Regions from separate parts of the Homo sapiens genome. Here region 2 is linked to region 1. Evidence: promoter capture Hi-C in human tissues and cell types (Jung and others, 2019). All regions are on one chromosome and are shown on one strand. Each heading gives the region's core, a stretch centred on a gene start or on the middle of the fragment in contact. The rest is flanking DNA. Distances are from core to core; before and after follow the strand shown.

The links. The method cuts DNA at HindIII sites, captures the fragments that hold promoters and counts their contacts. A contact is called where the count stands out against the background at its distance.
Region 2: a contact is called between a fragment that was not itself captured here and the fragment with the promoter of ACSL6 in region 1, in 1 of the 25 tissues and cell types used here (aorta).

The regions. Positions count from the first base shown.
Region 1 is chr5:132,008,842-132,014,874 of GRCh38, reverse strand. ACSL6 (acyl-CoA synthetase long chain family member 6) reads left to right here and starts at 3,217. Exons shown (of 21, transcript NM_001009185.3): 1 at 3,217-3,370. The coding sequence starts at 3,322. LOC124901062 (a long non-coding RNA gene) reads right to left here and starts at 3,419. Exons shown (of 2, transcript XR_007058933.1): 1 at 3,330-3,419. The HindIII fragment of the contact is 8,903 bases long and covers 1-6,033 here.
Region 2 is chr5:131,961,880-131,968,182 of GRCh38, reverse strand. ACSL6 (acyl-CoA synthetase long chain family member 6) reads left to right here. Exons shown (of 21, transcript NM_001009185.3): 16 at 155-243; 17 at 1,651-1,767; 18 at 5,505-5,648. Among named protein-coding and RNA genes, the nearest start is that of MEIKIN, 19 kb to the right of the region's middle. The HindIII fragment of the contact is 3,442 bases long and covers 2,881-6,303 here.

The DNA.
Region 1 (6,033 bases), core at 1,968-4,467:
GTAGTTATCCTTAGTGGATTCTTTGTTGAGTTTCAAGTTTTTGGTTCAGGTCTCCAAATATGTGGTTGTCAGAATACAGAGAAGCAAAGACCTGGCTCAGCCCACCCAGCCCCATCAGTCAGAGCTTCCACTAGGAGATGCAGTAATGGGGACAGAGGATGCATCATGCTGTGTGCCAGCCCCATATCCACACCCTCTGGAGGGCAGGAAAGACCTTCAGCAGTGGGATGGTGAGTGGATCAGTTTGAGTTCTTGGCTCCAAACTGACTAAACAAAGTCTGGACTGACTGTTTTAATCAGAAAAAGAGTACATTAAAGAACATGTTCACTTCTAAAAGGCTCAACTTTTGGGGCACTTCAAGAAACAGGCTCAAATTTCAGTTTCTGAAATGACTCCCAGAATCATCCACCATCCATGGCTTCTGTTACCACCCTTGTGCCAGCAACGTAGATGCCATGTGCATGACTTTCTTTCACTCATTTCTGGCTTTTTTATCGAAGGCTCATGAGAGTGTGTTTCATTGGTACAGTCTAAGTCACTAATCCACTCCTAGCTGCAAAGGAAGCTGGAAAAGTGAGTTTTCTGGATTCTACCGGAGACACTTGCAACTTGGGAAACTATCAAAATGTAGGAGAGAATGAATGAAAAATGAATAAATGGGAGTCAGGAGCCCAGAACTGCTGTGTGACCTAAGACAGTTGTTCGCCTTTCCCAACGTCAGTCTTCTGCTCTGTCAAATGGGATAATATCCTCTGCATTCTTTGGGCCAGACCCCAAGCCAGGGCTGCAAATAGATGATTAGGCTCCTGCCTGCCAACCCACTTAGAGATGCTAGTCTGGGAGGAGATATGTGTGAACATGGCTGGCCGCTAAGGTGGCTGGATTTGCTGGCTAAGGACCAAGAGGGATATCCAAGGGCTCCCCAGCCTGGCCTGGGCATTTCTGGGCCCTGGGTTCCATGGATGCCACACCCATGCAGTCTAGGGCCTGAGTCACAGCGTCTACCCATGCCTGCAGATGGTCCACAGATTGAGACTCACAGAGAAGGAAGAAGACCTTGGGAACTCAGGACAGGAAAGAACAAGTCCCATTACTCAGTGGAAGGAACAGGCCTAGAGAGGAGAGAGACCTGGCCATGATCCCACAACCAGGCTAGGGCCTTTCTGTCCCCATCTCTCAGGGGAAGCCAAGCCATGCTCAGAGGAAAACAGAAAAATACTTGGCTAAGCTAGAATCAGTCACAGCTCCAGTACTGGTTTTTGAATTAAAATATTCACAAGTAGCAGAGACATCTGTAGGGAGAGTAACGGGATGCGACATCCTGCTGGAGGCCAAGCTAAATGTGTCCCATGACATCACTCTGAAGAGGAGGCTGCCAGAGCCGCATAGGGCCCGGAGTGCTCCTGCAGCTGAGTGCCGCAGAGGCCTGAGGCTTGCAGCCTGGCTCCTGGCCCCCTGCTCTGTGAAGAAATGCTCTGTTGAACCACTGGCCTATGGGGAAATTACCTGACCACCTCCCTAGACCAATCTGGTCTGGGGAGATATGTTCTTTCTGCCCAGGCTTCTGGTTCCCCTGGGTCTCCTCTTCAGTACTAGCAGATCTCCAGTTACTCTGCTGCCAGTGGGAGTGTATGGGTGGGGTGGGGGGATTCTCAAAGCCATGTTACTTGCTGGGAGGAGTCCTGCCATACAGCCTCTGTCACACCCTCTTGGAGGAGCCCTGCCAAGCTTGAGATCCCAGCAAAGTCCCTGCCAGGCTGTGGCTGAGTTCAAGCTGGAGCAGCTCTCCCAGGAGTCCAGATCCTATGATGGAGAAGGTGTAGGATCCTATTGTAAAGATTGGAAGTGACTCAGAGGCACACATCTGCACACTTGCACCACTACAAGGTGCACACAGGCCTGGGCACACACATGCCATGTACTCGTACTACAGATACAGGCCCCCCCACACACCCAGCTGCTGAGCTGTGAGCCCACATGCACTCATGGCTGATGGTCTCTGGTGGGCCTGAAGAGATCTCATGCTCTTCCACTCTCTGCTTCCTGACTTCTGCTCTCTGGTTTTCTATCCTCTTCTTTCTGGGCTGTGGCTCAGCCAGCTCCTGGCCTGGGAGGGCTGCGTATAGAGAAGGCCCGGCTGCCTGAGCGCTGTCCTCGGTGCTGGAGTCCTGGTGGGCTCTGCATGCTTGAGGAAAACAAGCAAGGGCATTGGGAAGAGGTGATCTTGCTTGGAGGTGCAGATGTTCATGGGGTGCCCACCAGGATGCCTACCCTTATTATTTCAGAAAATGTGCAACTGGGCTTCCTCCTTTCAATGGCAGACACTGCAACAGGTGTCCAAGCCCTCAGCCCAGCAGTGTGGGCATCTGTGGCTGTGTGTGGCTATATGGCCATTTATTGTGGCTATGAGGGGCTTCTTGAGACCTCGTGTGCCACATACAGTTGTGTACGAAGATCATGATTTCCTCATGAGACACCTGTGATTCCATGTGGCTGCCTGTGACCATGTTACTACTGGTGAACACATATGGCAGCCTGTGATCACACTGAGTCTCCTGTGACCTTGCGTAGCCTCAGACCTGAACTCGTGCGTCCCCAGATGATCTGGGCACTATCTGGTCTAGCTGCCTGATTTGTCAGAGCCTAGGTGAACACTTGCCACTCCCTCCCCTCACTGGTTTGCAGAGGTGGCACCCGGAGGCTCCCCATGTCTGCAAACTCGGGTCCTAGGGGGCGTTGGTGTCAGCGGGCAACAGCCCACAGGAGTGTGCACCTCCTAGGACAGGTAACCGCGACCCGGCTGCCATTCGAGCCTGCCCAGCCATAAAACCCAGGCTGCGAGTCGCGCGGGGGCAGGGTCGCGTGTTGATGGGGTGGGTGGCGGCGGGGTGGGCTCAATGTCACGCTCTGGCGCTCGTCGCCCGTGCTCCCCCTTCCAGCCGGTTTCCGCAGAATGCCAGGTACTGACGTTGGAGAGCGGGGCCGGAGAGGGCTGGTTCGCTCTGCGGCCGGGCCCCTCCCCCGCCCGGGAGCTTGGCGGTTCCGACACCGCGGTCAGTGCGGGGCAAGCCCCAGACCCGGCCGGCCAGGCTGCAGGGCAGGGAGTAAGGCTCGGTTGCGAGTGCGCGCCGCGCCCTCCCCCTTGAGCCGTCTCCGCAGCGGCGCGGGGAGGCGGGAGCTGCGGGGCCGGAGGGCGGGGGCTAAAAATACCCGGCAGCGGCGGCGGCGGCGCGGCTACTGCTGGGGCTGCTGGGCTGCGGGGCTGCGGGGCTGCGGGTCGGGGAGGCCGGGCCGGGCCGGGCCGGGCCCCGCTGACCGCCATGCTGACCTTCTTCCTCGTGTCGGGGGGCTCCCTCTGGCTATTCGTAGGTAAGTGCCCGTCCTGTCCGCGTCCCGGACTCCCATCTCCCGCAGGCTATGAGGTCTTCGCCCGAGGTGGAGGTGTTACATCTCCGCGGCCGCCGAGCCCCCATCCCCTGCTGCTGAGCTGTCCCGTCAAGGTCCCCAGGGCCGCCTAAGTACACCCTCCGCCCCCAGTTCTCGCGGGCTCCGGGCCGGGTTTGGGGAGCACCTGGGTCTGCGGAGGGAGATATAGGGCTTGCTCTCTGCGACCCCACCACAAACCCCCGCCGAGTTCTTGCGTCCCCCTTCCCTGATGGCAAGGACCATCCGCGGATCAGATTAGGCCCTGAGCCAAGGCCAGGAACAGACATTGCGTCCTTGTCCATCTCCTGGGACCAGAAACCGAGGGTGTTGGTCCCCGAGGTCCCACAGCAGGTCAGCTATGTAACCCGGACTGACCTAGGCTTCCTGATCCCGGCGAGGGGCTTCCTCACGACCCCTCCCTGCCCGTCCTTCAGCCAGAGTACAAGATTTCTGTAAGGTAGGGTTCACCTGGCTCCTCTGCTCTGCCCAGGGCTGCTGTGTCTCCACTGTTTCCAGACCCCTCCCCTCCACCTCACAGGAGTCAGCTTCACCACTGCACTTCTTAGGCGGCTACAAGGACCCCTGCTCGATCCCGCCTCCGCGCTTACCTCCCTCAACCCCCCATACACCCACACCTGGAGTCTCACCACAGGCCCTTTTATCTGCCAGTTCTACCACCTGCACCGGCTACTTCCCCTCTCTGAGCCTGGGGTCCTCCAGAGTATAATACCACTAAAGGATCTCCACCTCCACCCCAACCCCCATGTGCAGATTCAGCCTGATAATTTGTGTGCAGTGCTTGATCCTTAAATTGGCCTTAAACCTGTCCTAGGCCACAGCAAATGCTCTATGAATGTTAGTGTTTATTATTATCTCACATTCAAACAGCACCATCAGAAGTGGTAATAAAGCTTTTTCTGAGCCAAGGAAGGGGAGGAAGTTGACCCTCTTGAAATCTTTACCTGAGGCTTTGTACGTGTTATTTAATATTCATGGAAAACCCTAGGAGGTCGGTGGCACCATCCCTTTTTTTACTGAGTTCAGAGGTCAATTGACTTGCCTAGTGTCACATGGATATTTGGCAGACTGGGATTCCATTCGAGGTTTTAATTGATCAACCAATGCTAAGTGCTTGGCTGGATCAGGCCTGAACCTGGAGGGTTGGTGGGCCTAGTAATCACTTCCTTCACCCCCACCATTTCCTTAAGTTAGGCCACAGGGACACTTCCCCTGAGCTGGGAGAGTGAGTGAAGCCTCCCTAATCCCCTCAGCTCCCTAAGCTCCTTCTGTCTGCCAGTGTCTGTGACTGGCTGTGCAGGGGCACTCTGGTCCTGAGGCACATCCAGCAGACAAGGGCAGGGCTAGAGCTGGGGTTGGAGGTAAAGGGCAAGGATAATTAAAATAATGGTGATGGTGGTCGTAACAGCCACCATTTAATGCCTGAGTGATGGATGGTCTCAGAGCCTCTCCCCACTGCCAGGACCCCTTTGCCCTACCCTCAGGAGGCCCCACCCAACCATGGGTCCAAGGTCAGCTCTCTGAAGACTTGATCTTCTGTGGCTGCAGGGAGGTGTCTAGGGGCTGCAAGACCACTTGTGACCGGGGTCATCAGCAGCCTGTGAGAAAAAGTCCCTCACCCTGTGGGGTCCTTGTCTGTGAGCAGGGTTAGCTGGCACTGACTCAAAGTGGAGTCCTGTTTCCTTGTGGAGCATTTCCTAAAGTGGTCAGCTCCCTCCTCTAATGGGAAACTGGGGAATCTGCCTCACTGAGAGACTATACAGGGCCTCAGAACCGTCAAGCAGGAGCGATTCTTGGGGCAGGTAGTGGCTGCTTCCACAGAGGCCGAGCTTCCCAATGCAAAAAGCAAGAGGCTGAGGCTGGTCTATGGTGCTTATTGGATAGAATAACCCAGACAATTGCTGGGGCATTTTAAGTTATGTATCCACCCTCCTTGAGACTCCACCTGGCCCCCAGCCTTTCTCTGGTGGCAGAAGAGACTCCTGAGTTAAGAGCTGTAGTTCTGTGAGCACACCTGAGAACATGCTCTGCCTTGTCATCTCCAGGGTCCCATGGTCCCACGGCAGCTGCCAGATCCCTTCCACTCAGCCAGTAACAGGAGGCAATGTCTCTCTTTAGTAGAGTTATGTGCTTTTTGCCACCTAACCTGGCCCTAGGGAGACAAGGTAGGGCCAGGCAAGGGTTTCCCTCAAGGGCCCTCAGGGAGAGATGACATAAAGTCGGGGATGGGGGTGTGGCAATGCACCAGGAGGAGGAGCTGACTGTTGTTTGTGGGAGGTAGCCATCTGTTCTGGGCTGTGTCTGTCCTGTTGCCTGCTGGAGAGGCCAGCAATGAGTCCTGGGCCAGCCCAGATCTCACCTGTGTGTTGAATACTAAACAAGGAGACAAGTAAAATAAGTCCAGCATGAGTCAGATGCTAGGTCTGGCTTGGGGAAGCATGCCCTCAGTGCCATAAACACCTAGAGGACAATGGGAGCAGAGGATCAGAGCTTCTGCCTGCCTGTACAGCACCTTTGTGCAAAGTAGGAAGAAGTCTCACTCTTGGTGGATAACTTTCTAAAAGGGCACACCTTCCTCTAGGCTAAGG
Region 2 (6,303 bases), core at 3,352-5,851, 48 kb after region 1:
ACACTTGCAGTAACAAATGCCCCTTTAAAGATGTGTTACTTTCCATCCATAATTCCCCACTTTGGCCACTCAGAGATTTTAAGGGGCTTGGAACATCTTCAGTGCTAAAACAGATCTGAACACTAACAAATGCCATCTTGCTCCGGTGTTCCAGGGCACGTAGGGGCGCCACTTCCCTGCAATCATATCAAGCTCGTTGATGTTGAGGAACTGAACTACTGGGCCTGCAAAGGAGAGGGAGAGGTAAACAAGGATTTAGCCATTCATGCCTGTGGCTGCTACATGTAGTGAGTAAAAACAAGAACAGTAGGGATGGAATGATTTTCCTTTTGCCTTGTGTATAAAGTCATTTTAAACTACTGATTAATTTGACTCAGCTCAACTCAGCATCTCCTCTCCTGTTTATGAGGCAACCAAGAGCTAGTGCTGGGACTGAGCTGGTTTAAATAAAGATTTGGAATTCCCAGATTTTTAAATTAATTAATTATTATTATTATTATTATTATTATTATTAATTTGAGACGGAGTCTCGCTCTGTCTCCCAGGCTGGAGTACAGTAGTGTGATCTCTGCTCACTGCAACCTCCGCCTCCCAGGTTCACACCATTCTCCTGCCTCAGCCTCCCAAGTAGCTGGGACTACAGGTGCCCGCCACCACACCTGGCTAATTTTTTTTGTATTTTTAGTAGAGACGGGGTTTCACCGTGTTAGACAGGATGGTCTTAATCTCCTGACTTCGTGATCCGCCCACCTCGGCCTCCCAAAGTGCTGGGATTACAGGCGTGAGCCACCGTGCCTGGCCCTTAATTAATTAAATTTTTAATAGAGTCAAGGCCTTGCTCTGCCACCCAGGCTGGAGTGCAGTGGCGTGATTATAGTCCACTGAACTCGAGACCATAGCCTCGAACTCCTGGGCTCAAGCAATTCTCCTGCTTCAGCCTCTCAAGTAGCTAGGACCACAGGCATGTGTCACCTTGCCAAGATAACTTTTTATTTTTTTTTTAGAGATTGGGTCTTGCTGTGTTGCCCAGGCTGATCTTAAACTCCTGGCCTCAAGCAATCCTTCCTGCCTCGGCTTCCCAAAGCACTGGGATTACAGGTGCTAGCCATCATGCCCAGCCCCAAATTTTGTAAAAATTCATTTTTTCCCCTAACTGTGTCATGGCCTGCTGCTGTGTGATCTGTCCCAGCAGAAACATGATCCTTTACAAATAGGCCAGATGGAGTAGATAGAGCTGGCCTGTACTTGTTCATTCCATGGGAGTAAGTGGGAATGATTGCCTGCTAATGGAGCAGGGGGCTGAAGCATCCCTGGTAGAATCAGCCAGCCATCAATATCTGTGATGAGTCCCCATCAAGTGTCACAGAGCAGCATGTGGCCAAGGCCAGAGGGCTCCTGAGGGAGAAGAGATGACAAAGGCCTAGGGTGGCCAGGGCAGGGGGGAAAGATGGGGAGGATGTTGCTTGACAGAAGGCAGGAGACAGTTCAGATGGCTGCTGGCTGTTCCTTGTCCTCTGTTTCCATCCCTGCCATATCCACAGTGGCTTTCCTGATGGGTAGTGCACCTTATCTCCGTATGCCTGGTGACAGCTTCCCATCTCCTGATTCCTCATGATGTGGCTGAGAGAAGCCATGGTTTTTGTCCCATAGATATGTGTGAGAGGACCAAATGTGTTCAAAGGCTACTTGAAAGATCCAGACAGGACGAAGGAGGCCCTGGACAGCGATGGCTGGCTTCACACTGGAGACATCGGAAAATGGCTGCCGGTGTGTATGTTTGGAACCACGGAGCTCCAAACATTTGGCAGTGGGAGGGTGTGTGGTCCGGGTCACTGAGGCAGGAGTCTTCTCCAAATCCCCCCTGACAATGAGTCATTCAGGAGCACCTCTGGGGCCTGGGGGGAGGCTCTTCCTTCCCTGAGCCCCAGAGCATCTTCCTCTTCTCACTCCGTCTCATGAAGGTGATGAGGGACCTGTGCAGGTGGGTGTGGCTGAGGTCTTGGAGACTGAATTCCTATCCTTAATGGTTTCCAGAAAGACATCTGACAGTGTGTGGAATCTGATGTGAAGTAGGAGGAACAGGGGGTACATGTCTCTAGGACGTCTGAGAAGGGCAAGGCCTGCAAGCCCTCCAATGCTGGCCCGCAGCCAAAAGGTGGCACTGAGTGAAGGGGAAAGCTTGGAGACAGGAGGGAGAATGCCTTAGTTCCTGTGGCTTTGCCAGCAGTTGCTCATGTAACCTTGAGCAGAGCCTCATCCCCGTCTGTGGCTTCACCTTGACTCACTTATAGAACAGGAGAACAAGCCTTCATAGCATTCCTTGCCCATGGCCCCCAGCTTTTAGCCAAAACCACTTTGCCTCATTCTCTCATTTTTAAAATAGGGATCACAGTGTTGCTTACCTCTGAAATTATTGTTGTGTTGTGCAAGATCTGGACTTTATCCTTTATTATTTATTTATGAAATGGAGTCTCGTTCTGTCACCCAGACTGGAGTGCAGTGACGAGATCTTGACTCACTGCAACCTCCACCTCCCAGGTTCAAGCGATTCTCCTGCCTCAGGCTCCCCAGCAGCTGGGACTACAGGTGCCCGCCATCCCATCTGGCTAACTTTTTTGTATTTTTAATAGAAACAGGGTTTCAACACATTGGCCAGGCTGATCTCAAACCCCTGACCTCAACTGATCTGCTCATCTCGGCTTCCCAAAGTGCTGGGATTACAGGCATGAGCCACTGCACTCAGCCTGGATTTTATCTTTTAAAAATGTTTTAATAAAAGAAAGAAAAATAAAGTTATTTTTGTGAGGAACAAATGAGATTATGCCTACAAAGCACTTAGCACAGTACCGGGCACATAGGAGATGCTTAGATGAATGCTTTGACCAGAAAACGGCTGTCACTGACACTGAGCACTCTTGCCTGGAGCAGCCCACCCCAGGAAACTCTCCTGTGTCTTTGGGAAGTGCTAAGGTTTGGGTGGACATTTTGAGGTGTTGAGTTAATGAGGCACGTGAATGATGTTGAGCCCAAGGCAGGCTGAGTGGGCTGGTAAATGGATCTGCCCCTGCTTGGGCCTGTGTACTTCCCTTTGAGAAACCCTCATGCCTGCCCCAGACAAAGATGTATCTCCAGTGAGTGCCCTGGCCCAGGGACTCTGCTTAGGGGAGATATGCATGATTAGACAGTTCCCAACCCAATGTGATGGGCATGAGCTGGGGGCACACTGGGGGCACACTCACCTCGGGAGAGGCAGAGGAGGACAGGCACCTACTGCATCCAAGCCTTAGGATATGAGTCATGTTCCAAAGGTGGGATTGGGAAGGACAATCAGGGCGTGATAGTAATATATGCTGAGTAGAGGCACTAGACATGGGAAGCAACTAATTCCAACTGAAGACCCATAGGTGTGGGAGAGAGAGGCTAGAGAGGTCAGCAGGTCCTGAACATCTGCAGAAGGTGGATTGTCCTGTTGGCTCAGGGAGCTTAGGCTTCAAGCCCCCTCACTTGCATCAGCCCCTTCCAAGGCCCTGCACTTCATTTTACCTGGTTTTTCTTAGAAAGGGCCCTCAATATTGTAAAAGCTTGAAGTCTCACAAATCCCTGGATCTGCTGCTGATGCCCTGTAACTTGAATGAAACCATTCACCATTTAGGGGGTAATATGAAGCAAATAAATGAATTCATGTAAAGCACTTAGTGTTGTGCTTGAGCACAGGGCCTAAAGTTGCAGGCAGGTAGTCTGTGAGAGTCCATTTTTTAAATTATTATTTTTAAATGATTTTTGAAATTTAATTAAAATTTATTGCAGCTATTGAGATACTTATTATTCTATATTTCTCATGTAAAGCAAATCATGCATTCTTGACATAATTCAACTTAATCATGATGTGACTTTTTAAATAATATTTTTCCTAAAAATTGTGTTTGACCTTTCCATTTATATTCACAAATGAGATTGATCTGTAATTTTCCTTTTATATACAACCCTATTATGGTTTTGTTGTCAGCTTATTGAATGAGTTGGTAAGTGGGTTTTTTCCCCATTTTTTTGGAAGAGTATGTTCAAGCTTTGAATGATTCATTCTTGAAATTTAGGTAGAAATCATCTATAAAGACATTTGTGCTTTTAAAAACGTTATTTTGAAATCATGTTAAATAGATCAAGGAATAAGCATAGTCTTCTGGTCCAGAAGGATCGGGATTCAAATCCTGGTTCCCCAACTTCTAGCTGTGTGGCTTTGGAGGAGTTAACTAAGCTTTCTGATCCTCATTTTCCTCATCTGTGAAACAGAGGTGACAACACCCAGCTAATGGACCATGAGGACCAAATAAGCTGGGGTAGGGAAAGTGCCTGATGTCTAGCCTGGGTTTTGAGCAAAACAGAGTCTGCTCATTTTTCTCTTTTGGAGAGATTGCTCTGGCACTGGCAGATCAAGCAGATGGAGTGGAGACAGAGTGTGTGCAGAAGTCCAGTCAGAAAGTGGTTTTGCTGGGAGGAGGTGGTGGATATGAGATGGATTTGTGAGCAAGGACAGGTGAGCCTGACCACTGGAGATCCCAGGAGAGGCAAACAACAAGGTCATCTCCAGGTTTGGGGTTTGGAGGCTGGGGCAGGCTTGAGAAGCTTGGTCGTGAGTTTCATATAGGAGCATGTTACATCCTCTGAGACAAATAGCCTAGTTTTTGAAGCATTCCAAGGGTATTTGGGTTCTGGATCTGGAGCTCAGTGAAGAGCTGGAAGCTTGAACTGACTTGGGAGTGACCAATGAAGAGAAAACGGTGGTTACTCCAAGGTGCATTGTCAGTGGCGGTGAGGGGAAAGAGGCCCACGTAATCACCTTGGAAGCTCAGAAAGGTCAAGGAGAGTCAGGGAGGTGAGGACGGGTCCTGGAGGCCAGTGGCATCAGCACTCCCTGTCCAAGGAGGTGATCTGCCTGCTGCAGAAGTCCTACAGGGGCCTGGGCTCCTAGTGCCATCTGGCATGTCAGGTAGGAGTCACAGGGGCTCTGTCAGGTCTGTGCTATATGCCAGGGGATGCAGAGGCTGCTCTTTAGGGGTGGAGACAGTAGCTGGGCAAGAGACTTGAGTGTGGTCTAAGGGAGTGAACCAAAGATGCTGGTGAGAAAAAGGGCACCTGGAACAAGGGTGTGTGCAAGAGGGGTGCCCTGATGGAAGGGCGGTGGGCCTCCAAGAAGGAGGAGGTGAGGATACCTGCTGCTAGGCATGAGGGTGGCAGTGGTGGGAGGACTGTGTGGGGGGCTAACTGCTGAGGGGAAAGGACAGTGGATGCTCACGGCCCAGCAGAACTTGGATGCCATCAACCTGCGGTGTACAGTGGTTCTCTCCAGGAGCCCTGCAGCTCCCTAAGAGCAGACACAACAGATGGAAAAGAAATCGGGGTGGGGTCTGCAGGGTGGGGTAGGGCAGGGAGTTACGGCACTGAGGAGCAAAGGTTCAGGCTTGAGAGTGCCATGTTCTTATAAAGCTGTTTGTCCAACTCTACAGGCAGGAACTCTTAAAATTATTGATCGGAAAAAGCATATATTTAAACTTGCTCAGGGAGAATATGTTGCACCCGAGAAGATTGAGAACATCTACATCCGGAGCCAACCTGTGGCGCAAATCTATGTCCATGGGGACAGCTTAAAGGTGAGGCCTCTAGGCTTCAGCCCTCCCACATATCCTGGGCATGCTGAAAAACCCAGATTAAACATTAACCTCCAATCAGGCACCAGGATTCTCCTCCGCATTTTAAAACATGAGAGAAAACTCCTTTTTAAAGGAGAAATCTTACTTATAGTTTGTTAAAATGTAATTAGGTCAAGTAAATTGTCTGAAGTAGTACTAATGAACATTCCCATTCCTTTTCACTTATGCTCTACTTACTTCCAAGGATTTTTGAGATAAAATACTAGAGCAAGATTCAGGGTTTCTACTGTTTTTATTTTTATTTTAAAAATTATTATTACTATTATTATTATTGAGACAGGGTCTCGCTCTTTCACCCAGGCTGGAGTACAGTGGCACAATCATGGCTCACTGCAGCCTCAATCTCCCTCCTGGGCTCTAGCCATCTTCCCACCTCATCCCCTTCCCCCTCCCTCCCCATCCCCAATAGCTGGGACTACAGGTGCACACCACCATGCCCAGCTATTTTTTTTTTAATTTTTAGTAGAGACAAGGTCTTACTATGTTGCCCAGGCTAGTCTCGAACTCCTGAGCTCGAGTGATTCTCCTCCTGCCTCAGCCTCCCAGAGTGCTGGGATTAGAGGCATGAGCCATCACACCTGGCCTGTTTTGATTT